Linked DNA regions of Homo sapiens: regions 2, 3 and 4 are each linked to region 1. The links are contacts of gene promoters, found by promoter capture Hi-C in blood cells and fetal thymus (Javierre and others, 2016). All regions are on one chromosome and are shown on one strand. Each heading gives the region's core, a stretch centred on a gene start or on the middle of the fragment in contact. The rest is flanking DNA. Distances are from core to core; before and after follow the strand shown.

Region 1 (6,685 bases), core at 2,285-4,784:
CAGTTTTCCAAGTCAGAAATCTGGAAGTCATCCTACATCCCTTCTACCCCTCATTAGATACTCTGTCTTTAGCCTTCTTCTCTCTAATCTCTTTCAAATCTTAAGTGTTATCCCAGCCAAACATTTTTTAATGAGTCCCCACCACCTTTATCCCCTATGGCCTACAAAGGCTTTCAAACTATTAAGCATAAAATATTAATGACCTGGACCTTGAGTAGAAGAGGCAAAATCCCCCTTAGGAGAAGAGGGAAACAGAAAGTCAACTTCATTCAGTGCAAAGATATGAATGATGTTTGCAACCACATCCCACTACTTCATCTTATTTTATATTCCTGGAGTACTCAACTGGAAGGCACTGTGTTAGGTATGTGGCATACATTATGTCATTATTTTACCTAGCCGCCAAGAAGAGACACCGCATATCCACTACCAATCTTTATTAATTTCAAAACTCCTTTCATACCCTATTTTAGATCACTGTCCCAACCATGACTAGGCTCTCATGATCTACATCTGACACTAATTATCTGGTTAGTCTTAAAATAGAAGAAAAGAAAAAGAAAACAACAATAACAGCAAAAGGCAGTGAAGACACTGATTTGAATGGATGACAGAAAGTACAGATATTCTTTATCACCATCTGTTCTGAGATAATAGACGTAAAGGCTTTTTATAATAATATTGTCAATAACTTCCATCACTAGTAACTATTCGCCAAAATTCTCTTTAACAGTACAGTTACAATACAAAATACCGTTTAACAAAATTATTACCTGGCAATAAGCATAGTTTCCGAGAGCTTTATGAGCTTCATCAATAACTAAACACTTTATTTCAGCAGCGGGACAAGCTCCTCTAGAAAGGTCATTTACCATGACCTGAGGTGTAAGAAAAAGCACTCTCTTACTGCACCATATTTCCTTCCTGGTGGAAGCTTGTGTAGACCCTGAAAATAAAAGTGACATTCTACATTCTAAACTTCAGACTGTTATCTATAAAATATAAATAGTCTGGCTTTTTCAGAATGCAAACATGCTTTGGTAACATTAAGAGAAAAACAATTTGACAATTCATCGGAATGCTACATTTTAAAGTTCTGGTGTGGTCCAAATATCAAAGCTGGCACTTATCTAGGACTACAACCAAATTGTCTTTAGAAAATTCCTACAAAATGGCATATTTGAAGAGAGGCAAATTCTTCAACTGAGAAATCTTTTTCAGGAAGAATGCCAGGAAATATCATGTTCAGTTACCCATGGGGTATACGCACATAATAGCTTCAAAATACTATGACAAGCTGCAGATATTCTCTGAAGATTGAATAAAGCAACCCTATTCATCAGTTTTGGGCTTGCTGCAAGTAGAGAATGTTTTAAGAGGGAGGGCGTAAGATGCACATGTTGTAGCTTGGGAACTATTCCACATGGGTCAGGAATTCCCAGCTCTTACTTCAAAATTAGTCCAGTCTAAGATACCTGTCATTTCGGCCATGTGGGATTGCGGGATACCCATCACCTGGTAGCAAGCCTCGATCTGCTGTGTCACCAAGGGTTTCGTTGGGGCCATGAAGACCACCTTTCCTGAAGGGAACCAGCGGTAGAAATTGTACATGACCACGGCGGCAATAAAGGTCTTTCCCAGTCCGGTAGGCAGACACACCAGCGTATTGCAAAACAGAGCAGCCCGGGAAATGTGCAGCTGGTAGTCCCGCACTGGGCAATTGGTAGGGTAAATCCACAGGGCGCCCGCGGAGGTGCAGAACCCGCCATTCTCTAGACACAACTGCCGCTCAGCCTCGTACGCCGCGACAAGCAACACATCATCGTCCGACTCCAGCTGAGCCTCCGCTGCTGCTGGCAAAGGCGCCTTGGAGCTGCCAGGGCTCTGAGGTCGCTCAGTTCCGGAGCTGCAACCCGGAGTCCCAGATGATCGGGAGATACTTGAGCCCCACGTCTGAAAAAGCGTTCTTTGCCGTCCGCTCATTAGGCCGACAACCACCGAAGGCTTCTGTCAGATATCCGTAGCAGCAGCAGCTCAACCGCTACGGTTCCGATCCCCATCGGTTTCCTTCGCACAAAACTCTGGAACGAGAAGGCGGGACTAAGGCCAGTTTATCCAGTTGAAAATGCCGCTACTGAGTTTCCGTTGGGAATGATTGGCTGGCTTCCCGGAAACCTTCACAGCCCTGCCGGAGACTCATGCGCATTATTAAGGCGTTACTCTAAATATGGTCCCCGGTGCGGTTCCGGTGTTTTGTTTTAACAAACTCTAAATTTAAGTTCCGTTTCCAATGATTAGATGGCTGGGCGTCATTGCTAACGTGATAAATCACTTAAAATGTTATAATAGAGATTTATTGTAAAATATTACATACCCGGGGACAATGGAATAGCCACCAGTTTGGGAACTTAATGTTATTGAGCGTCTAACGTGCCTCATTCCTTGTACTTTTAAATCAGAATATAAAGTGAAAAGCAAAAATGTGTAGATGGAATAATTTGTCTTATATCTCTATCTGGGCTGAGAAAACAAAATGCCAAGTCTCTTTTTCACCGCGCTGGGAGTGGCAACCCATTATTTTAATATTTTCATTGTTTAAAGGGAAGTGAACGTGGTCTGGTCCAGCTATTCGTCAGAATTTTTTTTTTTAATGCTCCTTGCAAAGCAGAGCTAACTCATAGGCAACATGCCCAGAGTCAGCCTACATTTTTTTAAGTAAGGAGTCCTGATGTTCAACTATTAAATCTTTATTATAGGTAAGAGCATTATAATAAACGTCGGTGTGCAATTATTCCACTCTAACGAAGATTTCTGTCTCAAATAATTCCTGACTTCTCTCTAAACCTGACTTTGAGTAACCTCTGTAAATTTGTTTCCTCGTGTACTGAGAAAAAAATATACATCACAGAGTTACGAGCATTAATAATGTCATTCTCATCAGCAAGTGGCATCCTGAGTGCGGCTTCTTTATAAATTGTTTTATTTGTTAAAGTTTCTGAACTTCGTTTTGGACAAACTTTCTCGTATTTGTATGGGGGGAAGGGGATGGGCAGTTTGTATTTAAGTTTCGGTTGTGTGATCTTTAAAAGGGAAATGGTGGGATATGGGTTTTCGGATCGACAAGGACTGAAGCACTTCAGGTGTGACTTTTTAGGCTAGAACTAGATAAAACGAGATAAGGAGCCTGAATGCTGTTTTCTTTTAACAGGTTATAGACTGGACTTTAAAGGCATAGCTGCCTTAAATGTGGGTAATGGTTGATAAATGTCGCTACCATCAGAGGTCGCTTCACAAGGTGTCTAATTCAGAATCGAAGATCTCTAGCGGTCTTCTACTCAGTCGACTGCAGAGACGACCGCGGTAGGTTTTTCAACCCGGACTCAACAAAGAAGCCCTCATAGCACAGCCTTGACGTCACTCAAAGACAGGCCCCAATCCCGACTGCTAGAGCAGAGGCCCGCCCCTCGACCTCCGTGAGTGGCCCCGCCCCGCCCTAGGGGGCGGGGCGATGCCGAACTGCGGCGGGCTGGCTCAGTAAAGCGGAGGCAGCGGGGGAAGATGGCGGCGGCCGTTCCACAGCGGGCGTGGACCGTGGAGCAGCTGCGCAGTGAGCAGCTGCCCAAGAAGGACATTATCAAGTTTCTGCAGGAACACGGTTCAGATTCGGTACCAGAGGCGTAGGGGCGGCCGGGCTGGTGCGGCTGAGGGACGCCTCACCCCCCTGGAGATGCCCATACATTCCGTATTCCTCTGTGCCCCCGCCCTCGTCTTCCCGCGGCCGGTGGCCTGGAAGGCCGGAGAGGCCCAGCTTGTGCTTTGGTGCCTCGCTCCCGCCTCTCGGGCGTTCTCTACTGGGGCAGGGGAGCAGCTTTATTTCTTGGGGCACACAGGCTGCAATTGTAGAGTTAGAACCTCATTGGGATCCTTGAGTGGGGGTGGAGGCCAGAAAAATAGGAACCCGAGGATATTGGGGGCTAGGGCGGAGAGGCCGAGGAATAGTGGTGTGGATGAGACTCCTGGGAGCGGGGCGCCGGCTACTAGGGAAATGGGAAGGGATGTGAAGATTTCTGTGGGAACGGTGTATCCAACTTGCTTTTCTCAACAGTTTACTAAATACTGAACATTAATGCGTGTGATTTTTAAAAAATCCGTAGGTTGTGGTTTAAGTTTTGATTTAACATATCGACCCTTTAAATGACCTTTTCACCTTTATACTTTAAGGGAGCTACATGCACATTTCTCTTGTGCAGTGGTCTGTCATTGTTATAAACAGACTAAGAAATTTATTTGAAATGCTTTATACTGTAGGCTCTCCATTTGTCAGCATAGTCTCCATCTTAACCATCCGTCTATAGTCAAGTTATTTTTGTTACACTTGTTTTTCCTTTGGAAAATAAGTTCATTCATGCACCTGTTAAATTGCTGAAATAGTTGTGCACGCAGCATTCTCTTACAAGCGGCAGCCTGCTTGTGTTTTCTATACAATTTTTAAAATTCTAAACTTTTCATTTAGAAAAACTGTTTCTGGGTTTTTTTGTTTGTTTGTTTGAGACGGAGTCTCTCTCTGTTGCCCAGGCTGGAGTGCAGTGGCGCGATCTCGGCTCACTGCAACCTCCGCCTCCCGGGTTCAAACGATTCTCCTGCCTCTGCCTCTCGAGTAGCTAGGACTACAGGCGCGTGCCACCACGCCAGGTTAATTTTTTGTATTTTTAATAGAGACGGGATTTCACCGTGTTAGTCAGGATGGTCTCGATCTCCTGACCTCGTGATCCGCCCGCCTCGGCCTCCCAAAGTGCTGGGATTACAGGCGTGAGCCACTATTTCTGGGTTATTTTGAGAAGCTTATATTTTATTTTCATTTTGGGCGGGCGTCATGACAGGGAGATAGAAGAACTCTCCAACTTCCAGTGCCTTCTTCCTTAATTATTATCCTGGCATCCGCATCTTAGATTAATTTAGCAGATATTAATACAACATCTGTAACAAGAACTATTCTCAGTGTTTGGAGGTACAAGGGTGAAAAAGAACATGTGTCGGGGATCTTACCCCATTTTAATGGAACTATTTTCTCTTAAGCCAATTCGTATTTCATCTGAAACAATAGAATAGACATCATTAACATTTAATAATACCTCAGTCATGTACTTCATCCATCATATTCTTATGAAACAAATCATGCCATGTGGAATCGTATGTAAAACTGGGCCACGTGGAAGAATTTCAACAGACTTGGATTATCAAAATGTTTTTATAACATTAATCTTTTAAATGCATAGTCTCGGTCGGTCGTGGTGGCTCATTCCTGTAATCCTAGCACTTTCGGAGGCCAAAGCGGGCGGATCACGAGGTCAGGAGATCGAGACCATCCTGACTAACAGTTGAGGCCAGGCATTGAGGACCAGCCTGGCCAACGTAGCGAAACCTCATTTCTACTAAAAATACAAAAAAAATTAGCTGGGCCTGGTGGTGGGCGCCTCTAATCCCAGCTGTTCGGGAGGCTGAGGCAGGAGAATCGTTTCAACCCAAGAGGGGGAGGTTGCAGTGGGCCGAGATTGGGCCACTGCACTCCAGCCTGGGCGACAGAGCTAGACTCTGTCTCAAAAATTAATAATAATAATCTCCGGTGATCATTAACACTTAGACCTATACTTGACAATAATTATTTTATTAATCATAAGATATCAAAGAGATGTTTATGCTTTTATGCTTTGGGTATTTTCTGGAATCTTTAACAAGAAACCACCAGCATGCTAAAGGTAACTGATTACTTCCGTTTAGTCAACTTTGTCTCCTTTCCCCATCAGCTGTTATTTAGAACATATCTTTGAAAGAAAAAGCAAAAGAAAAAAATACAATAGTGATAGTGTTAGCTGTTAACTGCTAATAATGTTAACTGCTTTATCAAAAGCTTAGAAGATGCCAAAGGACAACTTTGAGAATGTAACAAAATTAGGAATTAAGCAAGGACCACAAGGCAGAAAAAGAAGCAGAATAAAATAAGGAAACAAAGAAGTTATGGAAATCCTCACAATTACGTGATTTTCAGATAAAGTTATACTACGACTTGCTATTTCAGCAGTAGTATTTTAGTGTCCATCTGCCATCTTAGCAGTCTTATATTTGAAAGAAAAGCAATTCCGCTGTTACCTTGAGTTATTAAATACAGTATTAATCATAATCCCAATATTTATTAAGTTCTTACTGTGTGACAGGCTCTATGCTAAATGCATTAAATGGATTTTTGCATTTTATCCTTATATCAACTCTTTGACGTAGACGCTGTTATTAATCTTCCACTACAGATATGGAGGCTGAGTCTTTAGACAAGCTTAGTCCCCTGTCTAGTGTCAGACAGCTAGGATTTTTTTTTTTTTTTTTTTTTTTTTGAGACAGAGTCTTGCTCTGTCACCTAGGCTGGAATGCAGTGGTGCGATCTCGGCTCACTGCAACCTCCACCTCCCAGGTTCACGCCATTCTCCTGCTTCAGCCTCCCGAGCTGGGACTACAGGCATGCGCCACCATGGCCAGCTAAATTTTGTATTTTTAGTAGAGATGGGGTTTTGTCACGTTGGCCAGGCTGGTCTCAAACTCCTGACCTCAGGTGATCCGCCTGCCTCAGCCTCCCAAAATGCTGAGATTACAGGCATGAGCCACCGCGCCCGGCCCACACAGCTAGGATTTTAAC
Region 2 (7,141 bases), core at 3,343-5,842, 7.1 Mb after region 1:
TAAAATAGTTTAACCTTAAATGTGACAGACACTCATGTGTGTTGAGGAGAAAAATAGAATTAAAAAATCCTACAAAATTAAAAAATCCTATAAAAATCCTACAAAAGAAATAATTGGAGAAGCCATTTTTATATAAGTGATAGTAAACACTGAATTATTTTGAAAACATATAATGTAGACTAAATTACAGATACAGAGTATAATAATACCAGTGTATGAAGTACAATAAAAAGTTATACTTTAACAAAATTTAGGAAGTGAACTCTGGAAGATAGGAGTAAAAAGAGTGAGATTTTCTCATCTGTCATAAGGGAGAGCCAATAGCTTCTATCTAAAGATGATCAAATATAGGAACTTGTGGATATTTAAATGTTTGACTATATCCCAGGAAAAGCATAATCATGAAAATATGGAGAAGCAAAGAAGGGTTGATAATACACCAAAATTACTGTAGAAAATCAAGATACTTATAACAGTAGTAATCATAAGTTTTGGAATAGAGCTGAAGCAATAGTTGGTGGGAATTTATTGCATGTTATTTAAAAAAATTAAAAGTAAGTGAAGAAAATAGAAAAAAGTAAATGCAGAGCAAAGAATATCCTATGAAAAGTATTTTTAAAAGAAATAAAAGTAAAATTTATTTCTATAAAATAAATTAGGAATAATGAATAGGGGAATAATAATTAGCAAAAAAATGTTGAAAGCTCTCAATATAAATTTGAAATATCTGGATGAGGTCATAATGCTTTAAAAAAATAACTAAAATTAGCCCCAGAAAGATAAAATTGTACGATTACACTTAAGCATCTGGTCAAGCTCTGATAAGAATCTGATAAGAACTTACCCTCTAATGAAAAAAGTCCAGAATTGTTTTTAAAAATATAAAAGTTGAATATATCTGCAGGTAGGATAGATCATTTCAGTGTTAATTTATATTGTTCCAGAACTGAACAAGGGAAAGAAAGCCTCCAAGTCTTTTTTAAAGCAGTATAATATTGACACCCAAACTTGACAAACATAGCCCACAAGAAAGAATACAGACCCATCTCATTTATAATGAATAACAATGAAAACATTCTAAATAAAATGTAGCTAACCCATTTCAGTAGCACATTTAAAGATCAATACATCATAAACAAATAAGTAGGGTTTGTTCAGAAATAGAAGCATGATCTATGGAAATCAATAATAGAATATCATTAATATAATTCACTATAACAATAAGTAAAGGCAGAAAGTTTTCATTTCTGTAGATTAAAAAGTATCATTTAGGTAGCAAAATTTTAAAAATCCTGACTAAATCTGGAAAATACCCTCTATTGGTATACATTTAATAAAGGTAATTTACTAAAAGTTGTTGATGGTTAAACATCAACAACTTATTTATTAAAGTCAAGAACAAGATTTTTTTAAAGCTTTAATCTACACTATTCAGGAAGTGCCGATCAATCCAATTATCTAAGAGAAAAAAATAAAGGTTTTAGAGGAAAAGAGTTAGCAAAATTATCTACAGATGATACAATTGTATGCTTGTGAATCTTTAAAATCCTAGGGAATCAGAAAAAAAAAAGAAACCACAAAATAATTCACTCATCTAACTGCTACAAAATTTGTATACTAAAACTCCAGTAGCTTTCCTATATAAAAACTATAACCAATTCAAAAATAGTATAAGGAAAGATCCTATATACCAATACCAACACTCACGTGCACACAAATACATACATACAACCAAGTAACAAACAAGAAGTGGTGGGGAAAACAACATCACAATTTTCTTAGGGACGTGAAAAATATAAATAAATGGATATATATATATACATATATATATATACACCTTATTATTTGTTAAGAATACTCAATAGTAAATATTTCCATTTCCCATAAATTAATCTAAATATTTAGTGAAATATCATTTAGAATAACAACTTTTTGTAAAGAGACCAACTATTTTTACAGTTTAACTGAAAAAAAAGTAAATATGTGATGATAATACCCAGAACATTCTGAAAATGAATAGAAATGTGTATAGAGGCAGGTAGGAGAGTGTAGAGAAGCCAAGGTGTCCAGACTGTGGAATGGTTACAAAGAGTTCAAAAATACATATAAGCAGATATGAGAATTAGTACAGTAGTCCTCCCTTATCTAAGGGGGATACGTTCCAAGACCTCAGTAGATGCCTGAAACCTTGGATAGCACTAAACCTTATAAATACAGTACTATGTTTTTTCGCACATATCTATGATAAAGTTTAATTTTTGAATTAGGCAAGTAAGAGATTAACAACAACAACAATAATAATAAAGAACAATTATACAATATACCAGCATCACTACTCTTGCACTTTGGGGCCATTACGAAGAAACGTAAGGGTTACTTGAATAGAAACACCGTGATACTTGTGGAGTCTTAATTGAGGAGAGGGAGTCAAGTTGGTGGAACTGAGGGAAAGCAAAAAGAGAAAGCAGATAAGCTCTAAGTCTGCCTTTCTTCTTGGTCCAGGATATGTAGCCCTCCTGTGCAAATAACACAATCTTCCTGTACCCAGCTATCACCAGATCCTCAGCTGACTAAAATTTAAAAAAAGTTAGTTAGGATACTGCAATTTTGGCATTATTAGAACTGCACAAAGCCCTCCTCAGCACACAGCATAAGCACCATCCTATAAAATTCCCAGGAAGCCTTTGTCTCTTTGCAGTTAGCTCCTCTCTTGCTAACCTGTCTGTAACCACTCTTGCAACATATTTCCATACTTTCTCTATTAAATCTGCCTTTCTTTACCTACAGCTGTCTTGTAAATTATTCTTACCGCCACACCACTGGCCTCAAATAGTTGCTGATCACCCATGACAACACTGATGCAGACAAACCCCCAAATTGGTGCTCAATCCAGAGGGTTCTTGGCTTCATTCAGGAAATAATTCAAGAGACAGCAGTGAAAGAAAGCAAGTTTATTAAAGATTACAACAACAGTGTACAGCAAAATGGCTGTCCATAGACAGAGCGGGGCTCTCCCATAGGCAGAATTGCCCAGAGTAGCAGTGTACAGCAAAGTGGCTGCTCTATAGGCAGAGCAGGCCAGAGCAGTAGCAGCAGTCCCAAAAAGGAGGAGGAGGAGAAGGAGGAGCAGCATCAGCGTACAGCAACAGTAGCAGTGCAGAGTAGCAGTTCCTGTAGATTGGTAGCTAGCTATGTTTATACCCACTCTTAGCTGTATACTAATTAAGGAGTGAATTATTCAGAATTTTCTAGAAAATGGGTGAGGGAGTTCCAAAACCATATAAAATAACTGCTGGGTTGTTGTCATGGCATTTGTAAACTGTCATGGTGCTGGTGGGAGTGTCTTTATGCTAATGAGCAGTGAGAGCAACTAGAGATCACTTTTGTCACCATGTGGTGGTTTCCACCGGTTTCTTCACTGCATCCTGTTTTGATCATCAGGCTCGTGATTGGTGCTGGGAAAATAAGTCCCGTTCATCTCCTACCTGAATACTGCTGCAGTCAATCTGATAACCAAGAGGGCCACTGAGTGACTAAAGGGCAGGTAGACAGCCTGGATACGCTGGACAAAGGGAGGATTCTTGTCCAGTGTGGACAATGCAAGGCAGTGTGAGATTTTATCACACTATTCAGAACAGCATGCAACTAAAACATTATTTCCAGAAATTTCTATTTAATATTATCAAACCATGATTGACCTTGGGTAACTGAAAATGCAGAAAGCGAAACTACAGATAAGGGAGTATGGCCATATAAGCAAATGATGGAGAAAGGAAAGATATTTCAATACATTTTGATGAGACAACCAGTTAGCAATTTAAACTAAAAGTATAGCTGAATTATTCCCTCACTCTTTATACCAAAATAAATTCCAGCTGATTAATTTTGAAAGAAAAAAATGAAGCCATAACTGTAATAAAGAATATATCCCAATTTTTCAAAATTCTGAAGTTAAAGAACTTTTTTAAAATCAAAACTATAAAATCCACAACCCATAAATATATGTCGATAAATTAGTTCCTATGAAGATTTAAAACTTTTCTGTTGTTAGAACCAAATAGTATAAACAAGGACAAAAGTTTTTTAAAAAGTGGGGGAGAGAATATTTGCAATATATTGAAAGATAAAATACTATTTTCCTTAAAATATAAAACTCTCAGGCTAGGAGAAGTGGCTCATGCCTATAATCCCAACACTTCAGAAGGCTGAGGTTGGAGGATCACTTGAAGCCAGGAGTTCACGATCAGCCCTAACAACAAAGTGAGACCCCCATCTCTACAAAAAACAAAAATGACACAAAGCTTTATGTAGAAATTATATATGTGTATACGTTTTATATATATGCACATATATAAAACTTCTAGAAATCAATAAGAAAAATACCCCAAATCTTTTAGAAATATAATAGGCATTTCACAGAAAAATAAACACATATGGCTTATAAGCAGATGGAAGGATGCCCAATTCTTCTCATAAATAAATGCAAATTAAGGCAAAATAAAGATAGTATTTTTTAGCTGCCAAATTGGCAATAGTTTGATAGTATACAGCCTTGGCAAGTTCGTGAGGAAACAGGAATTATCACACACAGACAGTGAATGTACACATTATCACAACTTCTTTGGAAGGGAATTTGACAGTAACCATAAAAACTAAAAATGTGGATATCCTCCAACACAGAAATTTGATTTTGAGGAATGTATCCCATCGATACTCACATGAGTGCAACTGCAATGTACAAAAATGTTTTAAAGCATAGTTATATACATAAACAAACATTGGGAGCAACCTAAGTATAATCATAATTAGACTGTTAAGTGCATGAGACTCTATTTTCTGGGTGGTTTCACCACTTACTAGTTTTGAAACCCTGAACAAGCTTCCTCAGCACTCTTGCCCCAGGTTCCTCATCTGTAAAGCTGTGCCAAAAGAAATACTGTACATGTTTCATTGGATAGTTAAGAGTAAATGAGTGAACACATAAGTCAAAAGGCAAAAAATACACTTTAGCTTAAAGATCTTAACTTGGCTTTATTTGCAAGTCCAGAATCCAGCAACAATTCATTCTATAAAGTATAATATGTGTTCCAATGAGCTGAGTAGAATAAGTTGGCTTTATAGACAGAGAGCTGAAGAAAGCAGAAACAAAGAACAAAAAGCAGACATGTTATTTCAAAGTTACTTTCCTTGTAAGGTGCAAACAGGGAAATAAAACAATAGAAAAATGACCCATTAGTTAACTTCAGGTAATCCCAGGTTACTTTTTGTTGTAAGGATTAAAGGCAGAGGGAATTTCATTGCCATGCAGATTAAAACTAACCTATTTGGGAAATTTGGTTATCTCTCTCTCCTGATTTCTGGAAAGGACACATAACAACTCAGTTTCCATGTGGTGAGTAGAACCTCAGCATGACGGACTCCATTCTGGTTTTTAGTCTGATCTCTTGGGGTCTAGTGCAGGAGCTCAGTCCAAAATAAGGACCTCCTGTAATTTTTATTTAACACATATAAAGTGCTTATGACACAATATGTGTCTCATTTATATGTGTATATGTGTATATAAATTACATACATATACACATGTATATATGTATACATATGTAAAAGTATCTACACTAGTGTAATATTAAAAAATTATGTTAAAACAGTAAAAATTCATTCTTAATATGGAAGTATCTCTGAGATATATTGTTACATTCAAACAATAAGCCAAATAACAGAGTGGGTTGTGCTCTCATGTATGTTCAAAAAGATATGTATTCACATAAAGCTCCAAAATGATCCATGGGCAACTAAAGGTAATACACCTTTCCTACAAGATACATATGAAACTGCTTGACAGTTGTTGCCCATGTAGAAAGGGTCTGATATGATTTGACTGTGTTCCCACCCAAATCTCATCTTGAATTATAAGGCCCACCATTCCCATATGTTATGGGAGGAACCCGGTGGGAGGTAATTGAATCATGGGAAGGAATCTTTCCCATGCTGTTCTCATCATAGTGAATAAGTCTCTTGAGATCTGATAGTTTTAAATATGGGAGTTTCCCTGCACAATCTCTCTCTCTCTCTCTGCCTGCTGCCATCCATGTGAGATGTGACTTGTTTCTCCTTGCCTTGTGCCATGATTGTGAGGCCTCCCCAGCCACATGGAGCTGTAAGTTCATTAAACCTCTTCTTTTGTAAATTGCCCAGTCTCAGGTATGTCTTTATCAGCAGTGTGAAAATGGATTAATACAATAAATTGGTACCAGGAGTGGGGTGCTACTGAAAAGATACCCTAAAATGTGGAAGCGACTTTGGAACTGGGTAACAAGCAGAGGTTGGAACAGTTTGGAGGGCTCAGGAAAAAAAAAAGATAATGTGAGAAAGTCTGGAACTTTCTAGAGATTTTTTGAATACCTTTAACCAAAATGCCGATAATGATAAAGACAATGAAATCCAGGCTGAGGTGGTCTCAGATGGAGATGAGAGACTTGTTGGGAACTGCAGCAAAGGTGAATCTTATTATGCTTTAGCAGAGAGACTGGCAGCATTTTGCCCCTGCCCTCAGGATTTGTGGAACTTTGAACTTGAGAGTGATGATTTAGTGTATCTGGTGGAAGAAATTTCTAAGCAGCAAAGCATTCAAGAAGTGACTTGAGTGCTGTTAAAGGCATTCAGTTTTAAAAGGGAAACAGAGCATAAAAGTTCAGAAAATTTGCATCCTGACAATATGATAGAAAAGAAAAACCCATTTTCTGACGAGAAATTCAAGCCTGCTGCAGAAATTTGCGTAATGAGAAGCTGAATGTTAATTCCCAAGACAATGGGAAAAATGTCTCCAGGGCACGTTGGAGGTCTTCACAGCAGCCCTTCCCATCACAGCCCCAGAGACCTAAAAGGAAAAAATGGTTTCATGGGCCAGGCACTGTGCCCCCTTGCTGTGTGCAGCCCAGGGACTTGGTGCCCTGCATCCCAGCTACTCCAGCCATGGCTAAAAGGGGCCAGGTACAACTTGGGCTGGCAACTGCTTCAGAGGGGGCTTGCACCAGAGGCAGCTTCCACATGGTTTTGAGTCTGTGGGTGTGTGGAAGTCAAGAATTGAGGTTTGGGAACCTCCACCTAGATTTCAGAGGATGTATGGAAATGCCTGGATGCC
Region 3 (7,055 bases), core at 2,282-4,781, 8.8 Mb after region 1:
TGTACTACCTCTGTGATACTTTGTTTTATTACCTTTTCAGTTAATTAACCACTTACCATAATTAACAATGTTTATAGTAAACTTTCTCTGTTCAGATAACATGTATGGCTTCTGTTTCCTGATTAAACCTCAACTGATACAGAAATTGGTATGAGATTTATTTATACCAGTAAGTAAATCTTCAAAAATGGGAGTTTGAGATTGGTTTAGTTATGTCCTTGGGCTTGACTGCACTGCTAAACTCCTTGCTAATAGGAAGTAATGTTGTGAGCCATTGCATGAAATGGCAATACAATTTGCCAATTATTATCCCAATTTACTTGATCATGAACTGTTTTGCTAAAATTAGCACATTATAGACTAGCATTCCATAAAATACACTTTAGGAAATGCTTGCTTAGCCATACTTCTCTATTTAATGTATCCTCCCTAAACATATTAAGCATGTTCAAGTTGCTGTTCATGTTTTCTATAAATTCCTTGAGAATTCTTATTTATCAATTCATATTTTGATATCAAATTCATATTTTTATCAATATCAATTCAGATTTTACTTTAAGTGTTTATAGCTTTTCCTGATTCTGGACCCAACCCCCTCCCCAAAGGAACTAATTGGCTGCATTACTTTATACATACCTCTAATATGGCCATTGTCACATTATATGAAGTTGTTTGTTTATATATCTACCTATCCCACTAGAACGGGAGCTCTTTGAGGAACAGTCCTTGTCTGATTCATCTTTGTAGCTCAATGTCAATTAGAGTGCCTGGTATATAGTAGGTACAATTAATTTGTATGTGTAAAATTATTGAGAATGGTTATGAAGGCTAGCTATATTTACTCCCTTAAGAAAACTTAGAACACTTTGAATTTGCTGCCACAAAAGAGAATAAACAGACTTGTTTCGTTATTTAAAATAAATTGTTTATAGCAGTCTATATGTTACAATTTTCCTTCAACAATAGGCACTTGTTTACTTTTTTCCATTTTATAAATCTGTTCACTTATGAAGGCAAATAAATTCAGCTCAACAGGCATATACTGAGCAATTAACTCTGTGCCAGAAACTATGCTAAGCCTTATGTACACCAACATATAAATGCTTATAGTTCAATAAGGAGACAGATATAGTCAAATAAATTCAAGTATCACTGTGATAACTACAATAATAGAAGTATATACAAGTTGTAGGAGTAGTTTAGCAGAGGAGAAAATAAGCTCTTTATGAGGGGGGATTCCCCAAAGATTTTCTAACTGGAGTTTGAAAATGGAAAAGGAGTTTCTCAAGCAGACAACAGGCACTGGGTAAAAATCAAAGCATGGAGGCAAGAAATAGTAAAGTGTTGAAGACATAAAAGCAGTTTCAGAAGCACTAAGCACCAGATGGTTTGTGGCAGAAAATGAGGCTGGAAATTTAGGCAAAGGCCACATCATAAGAGCCTTCATGTCATTCTAAAGAACTTGGACTTATGCAGCAGGTGATGGGGAGACAGGGACGACAAATACCATTTATTTTACTTTTTCTGCATTGAAATAAAATCTGTATTATCATATATGCAACAAACATCAGTTGAGCCCTTCTAATACCTCAGGTATTTTGCTGGGAACTGGGTTATTCAATAGAGTTATGCCATTAAAGCTCACCATAAAAGACATTTTTGTTGATAAGGTAAATAGCCTAGATTTCATTTATAGTCTCTATCCTCCCAATTGATTCTTGGCATAAGCCTGCTGGACAGTATTTCTAACTCTGTTGCTAACGCGAACACCAACACTTTGAATCATTTCTGCCAGGCAGCAGATTTTTCAGCAACCCACTTTATAAACTGTAATTAGTTTTCCATAAAGAGCAAATTATTCCCTTTATTCCCTTTCTAAATTTCATAGCGCATATTATACTTTTGTTATACATACATACACACATACAATATCTACAAATTTCTATTTTGAGTTGGCCCAAAGGAATCCAAATCTTTTCAGGCTACAAACTCTTCTATTTAAAATAGAATTTTCTATTATAAAATAAGAAAATGAGAAAAATTTCCAAAATGAAGGTAATAGGCATCAAGAAGAGTAAGAAAGGTCCTTAGAAAGAAGAAAGAATGCACAAAAGAGTTAACAAATTTTAAGTACTACTGGTTGAGTATCCCTTATCTGAACTACTTGGGACCAGAAGTGTCTCAGATTTCGGATTTTTTTTAGATTTTGGAATATTTGCATATATATAATAAGCTATCTTGGGGATGGGACCCAAATCTAAACACAAAATTCATTTATGTTTCATGTATACTTTATACACATAACTTGAAGGTAATTTTATATAATGTTTTAAATAATTCTGTGCATGAAACAAAGTTTTGACTACATTTTAACTGTGACCTGTTATGTCGGATCAGGTGTGAAATTTTCCACTTGTGGTACTGGCACTCAAAAAGTTTCAAATTTTGGATCATTTTGGATTTTGAATTTTCAGATTAGGAATGCTCAACCTGTACCTAAGTAAAGAATACTAAGATACAAGTGCAGGTCTGGATATCAAATCACAGAATTACATGGAGAAGCAATACACAGATCAAATGGCCATCAGTTAATTCTGTATTAGAGGCTCAAAAGAACAAGTAAAACTTGAAAATTCAAAATCAATGATGGCAAAGAAAGGAATAGCAGCACCTTGTTAAAGACAACATTTTTTAAATATACAAAGCATATTCCCAAATGTGTTGCATATCAGTGTTCTCCATATTTGAAAAAATATGAAACACCTCAATGAAAACAAATGATCTGAAACTGATTGCTAATTTGGTACAAAACAAAAACTTACAGTTACCCCATTACCATGCTTGAATAAGAAGGTTGCTCAATTTGAGACTGGACATTGTGAAGTATTTTTCTGCCTGTAGAAATAGGCTGGAATGTCAGTTGTATATCTTGCTGCCAACAAGGGAACAGAAAAGATTTCCCAAGATTCTGTCAAGCCTGGTGATCCCATTTGTCTTTGGAAATGAAAGCCTAATTAAGAGACTCCCTAGGGACAGGTCAAAGGAGTTTTTATCCCCATCGTCCTTATCTTAGTTCCTTGATGCATTAGTCCTTCCCTTTAATTTAGTCTACCCTAAAACTAAAGAATACACATTGTGCAAGTTTCCACCTTTGCTTTCTCTACTGTAAATGCATTAGACTATTAACAGAATTACGAGTTTTAAATCCCACCTTCCTTATCTCTAAGCTGATGTTGATTTCTTAAAGTGTTTTTGAATAAAGCTTAACACTAAAAATTATTGTAATACTTTAATTGGATAACACTTTTTAAAAATATCGGAGTCTGACTAAAAGATTACAAAACCCCACAAACATCGTTATAATAAAGCTATTATGATAAATAATACTTTGTAAAATTTGAATTCGGTTTTATGTCCTAATTTCAAAGATTGTGGTTGCATGATATTATTTATCCAGGTTAAATTCCTGTTGGAATTATATTGACAGTGTTTCATTTCTTTGAAACAATTTTAGGGTTAAGCGTCTCTACAGTTAAAACAGAGAATATCAACTGTAGTCCCAGTTACTCAGGAGGCTGAGGCAGGAGAACCGCTTGAACCTGGGAGGCGGAGGTTGCAGTGAGCCGAGGTAGTGCCACTGCACTCCAGTCTGGGCGACAGAGTGAGACTCTGTCTCCAAAACAACAACAACAAACTTGAAGAGATGAAAATGTTCTATCCAATCATGATAATTCCGTGTGAGTTTTCCAATGTTTAGAAACACGTGTGGGCACCACTCCATCCCTGACCAGCAAGCTTCCTCCAGACCCACTCCACACCGCCATGTTAAAATGTCAACTTTTACTTTTTGGACTCAAACTACAAAATTTAACTATGTCTCCTCTTACCAAGATTCACAATGAACACCTAGGAGTCAAGGTAGGCTTCATAACGCTAAAGAGACCACGACTCTAATGACCACCCCAAACACAGCATTCCAGCCTAGCTGTGGTCTGCAATTACCCACTTCAGAGCCTCGGCGCAATGTCACAGCTGCAACTGATTGGTGTAACGTGCTTGTCATTCACATAGAGAGGGTGGGGCCTCAAAGCCCGATCTAAACCAGACTCCGTGTCTTACGTCATCGCCAAGCGACTAAAGCTGGAAGGGAGGGGGCGGGGTTGTGAGCAAATCTTGGTGGTGGTGGTGGTGGGGCGGCCTGAGAAGATATCATGGCTGCTGCCACGGAGCTTAATCGCCCGAGCAGCGGTGACAGGAACCTGGAGCGAAGATGCAGACCCAACCTCTCCCGAGAGGTGCTCTACGAAATCTTTCGCTCCCTACACACCCTGGTTGGACAGGTGAGAGGTGGCCTGAGGGACTGGGAATATGGAAACCATCCGGTCCCTCCTCGCCATTCTTTTTCTCTAGCAGAGGCCGGGGGCAGCTAGGCCTGCAGAGGTGTGGGATGCGGTCCCGAAGCCGAGGTGTGGAAGGAGCCCGGGCCCAGCCTCCTCGGTCGGAGTGAGGAGGACGGCGGTACCGGTTGCAGAGTCGTTTACCTTGCAGCTGTCCTCCCCAAGAGTGGGTGAGGTTGGCCTAAGTGAAAACCCGGCTCCGAGAGAGGCAGGCTTGGAGAGAATGAATGTGGAAAAGCTTCACTGCGAGTTTAGGAGGCGCTTAGCGTTCAGGGTCCTTTTTCCTCCAACTTACTCTTTATGGGAATTGGTTGGTCAGTAGGCCTGAGATTTATAGAAAAGCGCGCGCTTATTAGCTTTTTTTGGTGGGGGAGGGAGTAATTTGTTCTTATGAGTTACTTGGTTTTGTTTATTTCTTTTTTCCTTCGGGCTGTTTTGCGCATCTATAATCCTTTCAAATGGGGAGAAAAGTAAAAGGAATTCATTTAAAATACTTCTAGCGTAAAATGCTGTTGGCGTTAGAACTGTCGTTATTTAACTATTAACTAGTTTAACTGGCTGATAAATCGCTTTTGCAGAAATGTCATAGTAAAATTGGTTTTAAATTGAAATGGGCTTCTTCGATCAAGTCACTGTTTCGTTTCATGGTGTAAAATTCAAGTTTTAAATGAGAAACAATTTAAAAGTATGCTTGTTTACCTGCCTTTTAAAAGGAAATATTTTCTATCTTACATAGACCATTTTCTAGCCGTAAAAGTTTGTTTTGGGGCTGGTACTAGCGCAAGTGGACAAAGCAGGCATTTGTGTCAAAGATAATGGTAAATTCCTATGAAAATAGAACATTTGTCTGATTTGTGAAAATTATTTTTAAAGCCTTGAGTAGATGGAGAATCAGTCTTTTAAGAAGTTACTATTTTTAAAAATCGTAGTATGTTGTGTCTTACAAAGAACATTACTGTAAGTTAAACGGTTTTATGAAATGACGCAGTTATTAATGGAGTCTGCTTAAAGATATAACTTTTAAATTCAGTTGTTTGCCAAGTACTTACCAAAAACATTTTTTAAAGACTTGGGGTGTTTTGTTATTAACATTCCATTCTTAAGACCCAAGACGTTTAAATGGTTTAAAAGTTAGAGAACTTTTTATGGCGACGTTGGAACTTAAGTTTATTTATTTTATAATGTCAAGATGAAAAAAGTTTATTCTCACCTGTTAACAGAAGATGGAATATTTTTAAAAAATACTGAGCAATGATTTAAACATTTCTTTTGAAATATTTTGCATACTGAATTTTTCAAACTCATTAGAAAATTTTAAACATTCAAGTACTGTACAAGTAAAGAAGTGATTACAATTTACTTATGTCACCTGTCAAAAATGTTCACAGTAAATATTTGGTTACTTTACCATGACACAGTGAAGGGACCTCCTATACAAGTGTCAAAAATATGATTGTTTCATCAATTAAATACAAACTGTTTTCATAATACTCTATATTTTGAGAAGTGTTAAGAGTGAAAATTAGAGTTCCATACTTATAAAATTGCCCCCAGAGAAATCAGTATTTTCTTTTGCAACCACTTTAAAGGATATTTAGAATGTATGTTGTAACATGCCTAACTTCATCCTGTGTCATCCCTAAGTATCGTTGTATTATTAGATCTCCTCAGTAGGAAACATAAAACTGAATGTTAAAAATAATTTTTTACTTAAGATCACAAAATTTACTAATTTTAACCTTTTTGCTTGCCTCTGGATGGTCCATCTTACCAAGCTAAACAATTATTTATTTTTAGCTTGGATTTTTGTATTAATTTAGTAAAGTTTTTACTGAAAATATATATTTAAATAGTCTATATTAATAGCAGACTAATAGAGATTTTCGAGTGAGTGGTTTACTCTTCCAAGTTCTGTAGGGCAAAATGCATAGAGTTCATATTACTAATAATGAATTTGTTGAATGAATAGTTAGATGTATTAGGACAGTTTTAAAATTAATTTGTGACATTATGTGGTTTTCTTAAAAGACTAATTATTCTTAATTGCACTTGAAGCTTATGTAATTCTGCTGAATTGAAATGAGAATATGAACCAAACATTAAGACTTATTTTTCTATAAGTTATTTTCTCTAGAAAATGTGATACTTTGCTTTGGTTGAGGATTTGCCTGCTTTATCCCCAAGCTGTATTCTTAAGTTTTCTATAATCAACTATAGATCTCCTTGAAGACTATGAAAGTACATTAATGGGTTACTTCCATACATAATACAGGTTGTTGTCTAACAAAATCTTTATAGGAATTAAAGTAATATAAATTAATGCATTAACTTTAATGTACAATCTTAATATATTCTAATCTTTGCCAGTGCAGCCTACATGAAATTTCATATCTCTTTATACTTGTCTAATATGGACTTTTAAATGCTTCCATTCTCATCTTCAAAGGGCAGTAAATTTCTGTCACATAGTATTTATTCAATATATTATCTTTTTATTGGTAACCTTATATCTTTTTGATCTTTGTACAGTGATTCATCTTTTTTATTATAATTGTGACTCATAAAATCTGTATTTGAACTCACGTAACACCTTTATTTTGTAGAAAAGATGACTCATTTTGAATAAATTATGTTAACTTGATTCTACTATGAAGTATA
Region 4 (7,400 bases), core at 3,040-5,539, 6.0 Mb after region 1:
GACTGCTACAATATCTTAATGCAAATGATTAAGTAACACTGTCAGCTTGTGTATTATTTCCAAGAGAATATCACCCACAAAAAAAATTGTTGGCTGGGCCCAGTGGTTCACACCTGTATTCCCAGCACTTTGGGAGGCTGAGGTGGGAGGATCGCTTGAGCTCAGGAGTTCCAGACCAGCCTGGACAACACAGTGAGACCTTGTCTCTACCAAAAATAAACAAAATTAGCCAGGCATGGTAGCACATGCCTGTGGTCCCAGCTACCAGGAGGCTGAGGTGGGAGGATTGCCTGAGCCCCAAAGTACAAGACTGCAGTGAGCCAAGATCACATCACTGTACTCCAGCATGGGCAAGAGAATGAGACCCTGCCAAAAAAAAAAAAAAAGGCTTCCAAAGGTACCCAATGCTATGTGAAGATAAAATTAAATTTTTATTTGCTTTTTAAATGAATAAGAGTCCTTACTCCTAAAAAACTGAAGAACCAAACTCCATAATTCTTCCCTTTTGATCCAAGAAATCATATATTTCAATCTTTCTTTTTTTTTTTTTTGAGACAGAGTCTCGCCCTGTCGCCCAGGCTGGAGTGCAATGGCACGATCTCGGCTCACTGCAACCTCTGCCTCCCAGGTTCAAGCGATTCTCCTGCCTCAGCCTCCCAAATAGCTGGGATTACAAGTGCACACCTCCACATCCAGCTAATTTTTGTATTTTTAGTAGAGATGGGGTTTTACCATGTTGGCCAGGCTGGTCTCGAACTCCTGACCTTGTGATCCACCTGCCTTGACCTCCCAAAGTGCCGGGATTACAGGCATAAGCCACCGCGCCCGGCCCATATTTCAATCTTAATAGAATGTATAGGACATCTAGAACTAGAAATAGCAATCTAACCTTAGTACAGATGCCCCTGAACTTGCAATGGGGTTATGTGCTGATAAACACATTGTAAAGTTGAAAATTCCTAAAATGGCTGGGCATGGTGGCTCATGCCTGTAATTCCAGCACTTTGGGAGGCCAAGGTGGGTGGATCAGTTGAGGCCAGGAGTTCGAGACCAACGTGGCCAACATGACAAAATCCTCTCTCTACTGAAAATACAAAAATTAGCCAGGCATGGTGGGAAAAAAGGAATCCTAAACTGAACCATTGTAAGTCAGGGACCTTGTATTTAATTCAAACCCCAGAATCTAAGACTTATAACTGAAAGCTACAGAAATGAATACTCTAGCACCATGATTAAGACAGAGCATGAGCTCTGGAGTTAGATCTACCTGGCACTGAATCTCAGTACTGCCATTTACTTGCTGAAAAACCACCTGCAAGTTACTTAACCTCAAATGCTGTTTCCTCATCTATAAAAAGTAGTTATCAATAATAACTCTCCATAGAGGGTTGTAGTAAGGATTAAATAAGAACCATTAAAGAGCTTAGGACAAAGTCTTGCATACTGTAAGAATTCAGTATATGTATTAACAATTCAAATACTTTCACACACAATGCAAACAAAAGAATGCATATATCTCTATTATTAATTTTACCTGATTCATTCTGCTAACAATACTAAGCAAGGGAGGAAAACCAATCTGAAAGAAAAAATGAGACTGAATTTTACTAAATGGTATTATAAGCTTCATTTTTTTTTTTCAAACTGGTGAATTTCTTGCCACACTGTTGTTTAGAAACAAAGAACAAATAAAAGAAAATTCTTTCATTGTCCATAACAATGAGACATTCCGGAAACTACTATGTTTGTAATGCGGAAGAAAATAACGCCTTAAATTTTGAATATGTAATTTTTTTTTTAGATGGGGTCTCACTCTGTCACCCAGGCTGGAGTGTAGTGGCGCGATCTTGGCTCACTGCAACCTCTGCTTCCTGGGCTCAGGTGATGCTCCCACCTCAGCCTCACGAGTAGCTAGGACCACAGGTGCATGTCAACACGCCCAGCTAATTTTTTTGTATTTTTGGTAGAGATGAGGTTTTGCCATGTTGCCCAGGTTGGTCTGGAACTCCTGAGCTCAAGTGATCTACCTGCCAGAGCCTCCCAAAGTGCTGTGATTACAGGCATGAGCCACCTCACCTGGTCTGAATTTGTAAATTTTTAAATAAAGTATGATTTTAGTAAGTAAAATGTTAAAGACTAAAAATTTTTTACATGATAGTACTTGAAAAAACTAACTTATTAAGTATATCCAATAAAACTGTAACATTGATAAGATGACATTAATATGTTGTATACACCATTTCAAAATCTTCAGCTAAAGCTAATATTTTCAAGAATTAAGGACACTTGAATTAGAATGACATTTTTAAAACCTAATTTGATTCAATTTTTAAAAGTCTACTTTGGAGTCTGAGGCTGTGATTGCTAATTATGAAAATACCACTGATTTGTGAGAAACTTAAGAGGATATACATTAAACGCTTACTTCCTTAAGGGTTTTTTTTAACATGGTGTATTTTACTTGTATGTATTCTCTGAAAATAAGCTAAATAAGTAAGTTTTAATTCTTTATAAATTAAAAACCATTTTTGGCTAGCCATGATAGCTCATGCCTATAATCCCAGCAGGAGGATTGCCTGAGCCCAGGAGTTTCAGGCCAACCTTGCAACATGGTGAAAACTTCTCTCTACAAAAAAATTTTTTTAAAAAATTAAAAAACTTATCGCTACAAAAAATTTAAAAATTAGCTGGGTGTGGTGGTGGGTGCCTGCTGCCCCTGGTATGTTGAAGGCTGACGTGGGAGGATTGCTTGAGCCCAGGAGGTTGAAGCTGTAATGAGCTATGAGTGCACTACTGCACTCCAGCCTGGATGACGGAAGAAGACCCTGTCTCAAAAAAAAAAAAAAAAAAAAAAAAAAAAAATATATATATATATATATATATAGCTATTTTTGAAATGTAGCATATGTTAAGGATATCATCCAAAAGATCAATTGGTTATATAGAAAGAGTACCAAATTAACTTCCCTAAGATTTGAGTCTATTTATACTCCTGTACCACGTCTAAGAGTGCTTGTTTCCCCAGCTCTTGTCAATATGGTGTATCAAACTTTCTTGGCCAATATGTTACCTGAAAAATAGCACCTTGGCATAGTTATGTTATACTTCTATTACAAGTGATTTTTGGCATCTTGTCATATAAGAATAATTTTATTTCCTTTCTGTGAGGTATCTATATCCTTTGGCTATTTTTTCTTGGGCAGGGGAGGGGTGATTCTTGGTCTTTTTATTGATTCTTGGGGCTTTTTACATTTTTAGGAAAAATTAGTTTTAAATGTGAAAAACACAATGTGGCACCATATAGCAAATAATAAATACCTGTTGAACTGAAAAGAACTACATGCTATAGGGAGTAAGCGCTAATGCAGAGGCATGCACTGGATTCTCAAGGAACACCTGCAAACTTGGGGGCAGGTAAATCCTGAAGGACAAGGAGTTGTCTACATAACTTATGATTACAGCCACATGAATTTTAAAGATATCCTCAACATTTCATCTTTAGAATATGTGATTTATTTTTTACAGGCCCATGAAGTGATAGATGTGATTATGCATTTTAAAGCATCTAATTGTGTCGATTTCCATTTTTTCCCTGGCTACTCATAACACTGTTTGCCTGATGCCTCATCATTTAAAAAAACTATGAATCTTATCCAACTCATAAAATGATTACCAAGCCAAACATAAGGGATATGAAGCCAAACTAAAAAAAGTCACAGTAAATTGTTTCAGAAACTAAGCTGTTTTGTTAGGTTGAAGAGCTAATAAACTAAGTCTGGGTTGGCAAACATTTTCTATCAAGAGTCAGACAGCAAATATTTTAGGCTTTGCAGGCCACATAAAGTCTCAGCCACATATTATTTGTTTCTTTTTTACTCTTTCAAAACCTAAAAACAATCCTTAGCTCATGGATATAAAAAAGGCCATGAACTGGACTTGGCCCAGGGTAGAGTTTGCTGACCCCTTATATTAAGTGGTGCACCAAAATTAAAATGCTTTTTGTTCTGTTTATCCACACAGCCCTTACTTGTACATAATCTATTCCAGGACTTTCATTTGTGGCTGGTCCAACAGCCCCGTCAGCACATAACTTTTCACCCAGACAAAATTTCTTCCAGCCTTCTTCATCTTCAGATTTTGGCTAAAAGAAAAAAAAAAAAACTGATTTATTCCTGTGTATTAATTTTTACACTGAACAGTAAAAAAAAAGAAGTTAAGTCCTTCCATATTCCCATTACCGCAACCCAAAGATACGGAGCCAGTTATGGGGAGAATCTCTGCCCCCAAATTTGTATGTTAAAACCTTAAACTCCAGTACCTCAGAATGTGACTGTATTTGGAGACAGGGCCTTTAAAGAAGTGATTAATTTAAATTGAGGCCATTAGGGTGAGCCGTAATCCAATCTTACTAGTGTCCTTATAAGAGGAAATTTGGATTCACAAAGAGACACCAGGGACTCCCACACACAGAGGAAAGACCACGTGAGAAAACAGGGAGAAGGTGGCCCTATGCAAGCCAAGGAGAAAAGCCTCAGAAGAGACCAACCTTAGGCCGGGTGCGGTGGTTCACGCCTGTAATCCCAGCACTTTGGGAGGCCGAGGCAGGCGATCACATGAAGTCAGGAGTTCAAGACCAGCCTGGCCAACATGGCAAAACCCCACCTCTACTAAAAATACAAAAAAAAAAAAAATTAGCCGGATGTGGTGGTGCACACCTGTAATCCCAGCTACCCAGAGGCTGAGGCAGGAGAATCACTCGAGCCTGGGAGGCGGAGGCTGCAGTGAGCAGAGATTGCGTCATTGCACTCTAGCCTGGGCAACAAGAGCGAAACTCTGCCTCAAAAAACAAACAAACAAACAAAAAGAGACCAACCTTGCTGCCACCTTGTTCTTTGACTTTCAGCCTTCAAGACTGAGAAAATAAATACATTTCTGTTGTTTAATCCACCTAGTCTGTTATGGCAGCCCTGACAAACATAGTGCCTAAGTGGCTACACAATATGTGGGACATGTTGTTTTTCCTTATTATTACATTTTTTGAGACAGGGTCTTGCTCTGTCGCCCAAGTTGGAGTGCAGAGGTGTGATTACAGTTCATTGCAGCCTGAATCTCGGGCTCAAATAATTCTGCCACCTCAGCCTCTTGAGTAGCTGGGACTACAGGCATGTGCCACCATGCCTGATAATTTTTAAATTTTTTTTGTAGAGATAGTTGTCTCACTATGTTGCCCAGGCTGGTCTCAAACTCCTGGCCTCAAGCAATTCTTCTGCTTTGGCTTCCCAAAGTGCTGGGATTACAAGTGTGAGCCACTGTGCCCAGCCAAGATGTGTTTAGTTTGGACAAGACTTTAGTGGACACTGACAGACAATGGTGTGTCCAAAAGAGGATGATAAAGACAGAAATAAGTATGGGGGAAAAAATGCACCAAGAACACTTAATAGAATGAAGGATATTTATCCCATGTAAAGAGACATGATTACATATTTCACATATTTGAAGGGTTGTCCAGTCAAAGAAGAAACAGATCTACTCATGCTGCCAGACAGAAAAAGCAGGACGCAGGACTATTTGGGAGAAGCATTCAGCTCAATATAACCTCCTTAACAAAATAACCTTTGTTTGTACATATCACCTTGTATATTACTTTGCATAGGTGCATTTTCCCCCTAGGGATAAGTAGCTTTCATTAAATCCTTAGGATGAATCACCTGAGGTCAGGAGTTCGAGACTAGCCTGGAAATATGGTGAAACCCCGTCTCTACTAAAAATACAAAAATTAGCTGGGTGTGGTGGCAGGCACCTGTAATCCCAGCTACTTGGGAGGCTGAGGCAGGAGAATTGCTTGAATCCAAGAGACAGAGGTTGCAGTGAGCCAAGATTGTGCCACTGCACTCCAGACTGGGCAACAAGAGCAAAACTCCATCTCAAAAAAATAAATAAAATAAAATAAAATAAAATAAAACCTCACGATGAACATGAGACCACTACAAAGTTAAACCCTATTGTCTTGGAATAAGGTTATCTACCTTTTCCTAACACTCTATTAGGTCAGAAGCTGTTTCTGTTTCAGTTAGTACTGAATATCCTGATTATTAAATATAGCACATGCTTAAATTATTGGATCAATTAATAAACAAATGTTTATGTTTTCACACAGTTGCCATCACAGTGTACTTTATTTTTTAAATAATTTAAATAGAGACAGGGTTTTGCCATGTTGCCCAGGCTGGTCTCGAACTCCTGAGCTCAGGTGATCTGCCCACCTCAGCCTCCCAAAGTGCTGGGATTATAGGCATGAGCCACTGTGCCTGGCTCAGAGTGTACTTTAAAACATTTTCATTTTATTACTTATATGATGTTTGCATTTGCCATGACAAACACTTAAAATTGCTACATAATATTCCACTGTTCTGATGGACCATAGTTTATTGAATCAATTATGTTAGGTCATTTCCATTTTTGACAAAATTTTATCAAGTCATAATGTTACTGATGTGGCTTCTTTTTTAGTTAGTGGGCATGCACCCAAAAGGCCTTCCGCTAAGTAAGAAAAAAAATATATTTACCTACCTAGCCCTGTCCCTACTACATACATACATCCTTGGTACTAGGAAGGCACCATTGCATAGTCAAAGGCACACAGGCTTTAGAGACAGACCAACTTGGGTTTGAACCTTAAGCATACCTTTTGTGTGTTTATGTGCGCATGCTTCTTTGATAGAAGGACTAGCTATACCTTTTACAAGTTAAATGACCATTGGCAAGTGATAAGTTACTTCCCTTCACGCTTTTCCTGGAGCAGAGCTTCCAAATGGTATGCAGAAGCATACAGAGATGCCATATACTGAATCTCTCAGCTTTCGGCTGGTTTCAGGAAGAATATGCAAGCAGTCATTTATTCTAATGTGTCACCATGTAAAAGATATCAGGAAGCACTGCCTAAAGGAAGCTTCTAAAATCTAAAATCTATGAACTACCTGAAACTAAAATGTTGTGCATAGGTGCATTTTTTTTCCCTCTGAAGATAAATAGCTTTCATTAGATTCTACGAAAGAATATGAAGTCCCCTAAAAGGTTAAAAACTACTGTCCTGAGACAATGTATCATCTTTCCAACTCCTTTTTTCATTTGGTAGTCCTGATATATCTACTAAAGGGCTTAAAGTTATATCTAAACTGATAAAATATAGGACATATGCATGACAATATACATGACAGGTTTCACTTATATGTCACTGGAATTGTGACACAGACTCATCACATTAAGCAGAAGCAGAATCCATTCACAAGTTCTGTAAACATGTGAGTTTACTGCATGGCACCATCACCTCATCAGGAAAATCCATTAAGGCTTTATTCAATTTTTTTTGTAAATATTGAAAATGTATTTATTTCCTAGAA

The links. Contacts are between HindIII fragments. The CHiCAGO score rates a contact against its expected background, and 5 or more counts as called.
Region 2: a contact is called between a fragment that was not itself captured here and the fragment with the promoter of FKBP3 in region 1, in 1 of 17 cell types (activated CD4 T cells). The highest score is 5.0, in activated CD4 T cells.
Region 3: a contact is called between a fragment that was not itself captured here and the fragment with the promoter of FKBP3 in region 1, in 1 of 17 cell types (total CD8 T cells). The highest score is 8.4, in total CD8 T cells.
Region 4: a contact is called between a fragment that was not itself captured here and the fragment with the promoter of FKBP3 in region 1, in 13 of 17 cell types (naive CD8 T cells, total CD4 T cells, non-activated CD4 T cells and 10 more). The highest score is 30.5, in naive CD8 T cells.

The regions. Positions count from the first base shown.
Region 1 is chr14:45,131,330-45,138,014 of GRCh38, reverse strand. It overlaps FKBP3 (FKBP prolyl isomerase 3), which reads left to right and starts at 3,534. Exons shown (of 7, transcript NM_002013.4): 1 at 3,534-3,666. The coding sequence starts at 3,559. FANCM (FA complementation group M) reads right to left here and starts at 2,085. Exons shown (of 23, transcript NM_020937.4): 1 at 1,476-2,085; 2 at 774-946. The coding sequence starts at 1,983. RefSeq lists enhancers at 1,882-1,931, 2,594-3,464, 3,558-3,777, 3,465-4,336 and a silencer at 3,411-3,588. The HindIII fragment of the contact is 3,907 bases long and covers 937-4,843 here.
Region 2 is chr14:38,061,537-38,068,677 of GRCh38, reverse strand. No RefSeq gene overlaps it. Among named protein-coding and RNA genes, the nearest start is that of SSTR1, 140 kb to the left of the region's middle. The HindIII fragment of the contact is 578 bases long and covers 4,304-4,881 here.
Region 3 is chr14:36,317,745-36,324,799 of GRCh38, reverse strand. It overlaps MBIP (MAP3K12 binding inhibitory protein 1), which reads left to right and starts at 4,163. Exons shown (of 9, transcript NM_016586.3): 1 at 4,163-4,340. The coding sequence starts at 4,212. RefSeq lists enhancers at 3,765-3,814, 4,215-4,474. The HindIII fragment of the contact is 533 bases long and covers 3,265-3,797 here.
Region 4 is chr14:39,119,171-39,126,570 of GRCh38, reverse strand. GEMIN2 (gem nuclear organelle associated protein 2) reads right to left here. Exons shown (of 10, transcript NM_003616.3): 5 at 4,028-4,141; 6 at 1,535-1,579. Among named protein-coding and RNA genes, the nearest start is that of GEMIN2, 8.5 kb to the right of the region's middle. The HindIII fragment of the contact is 5,325 bases long and covers 1,627-6,951 here.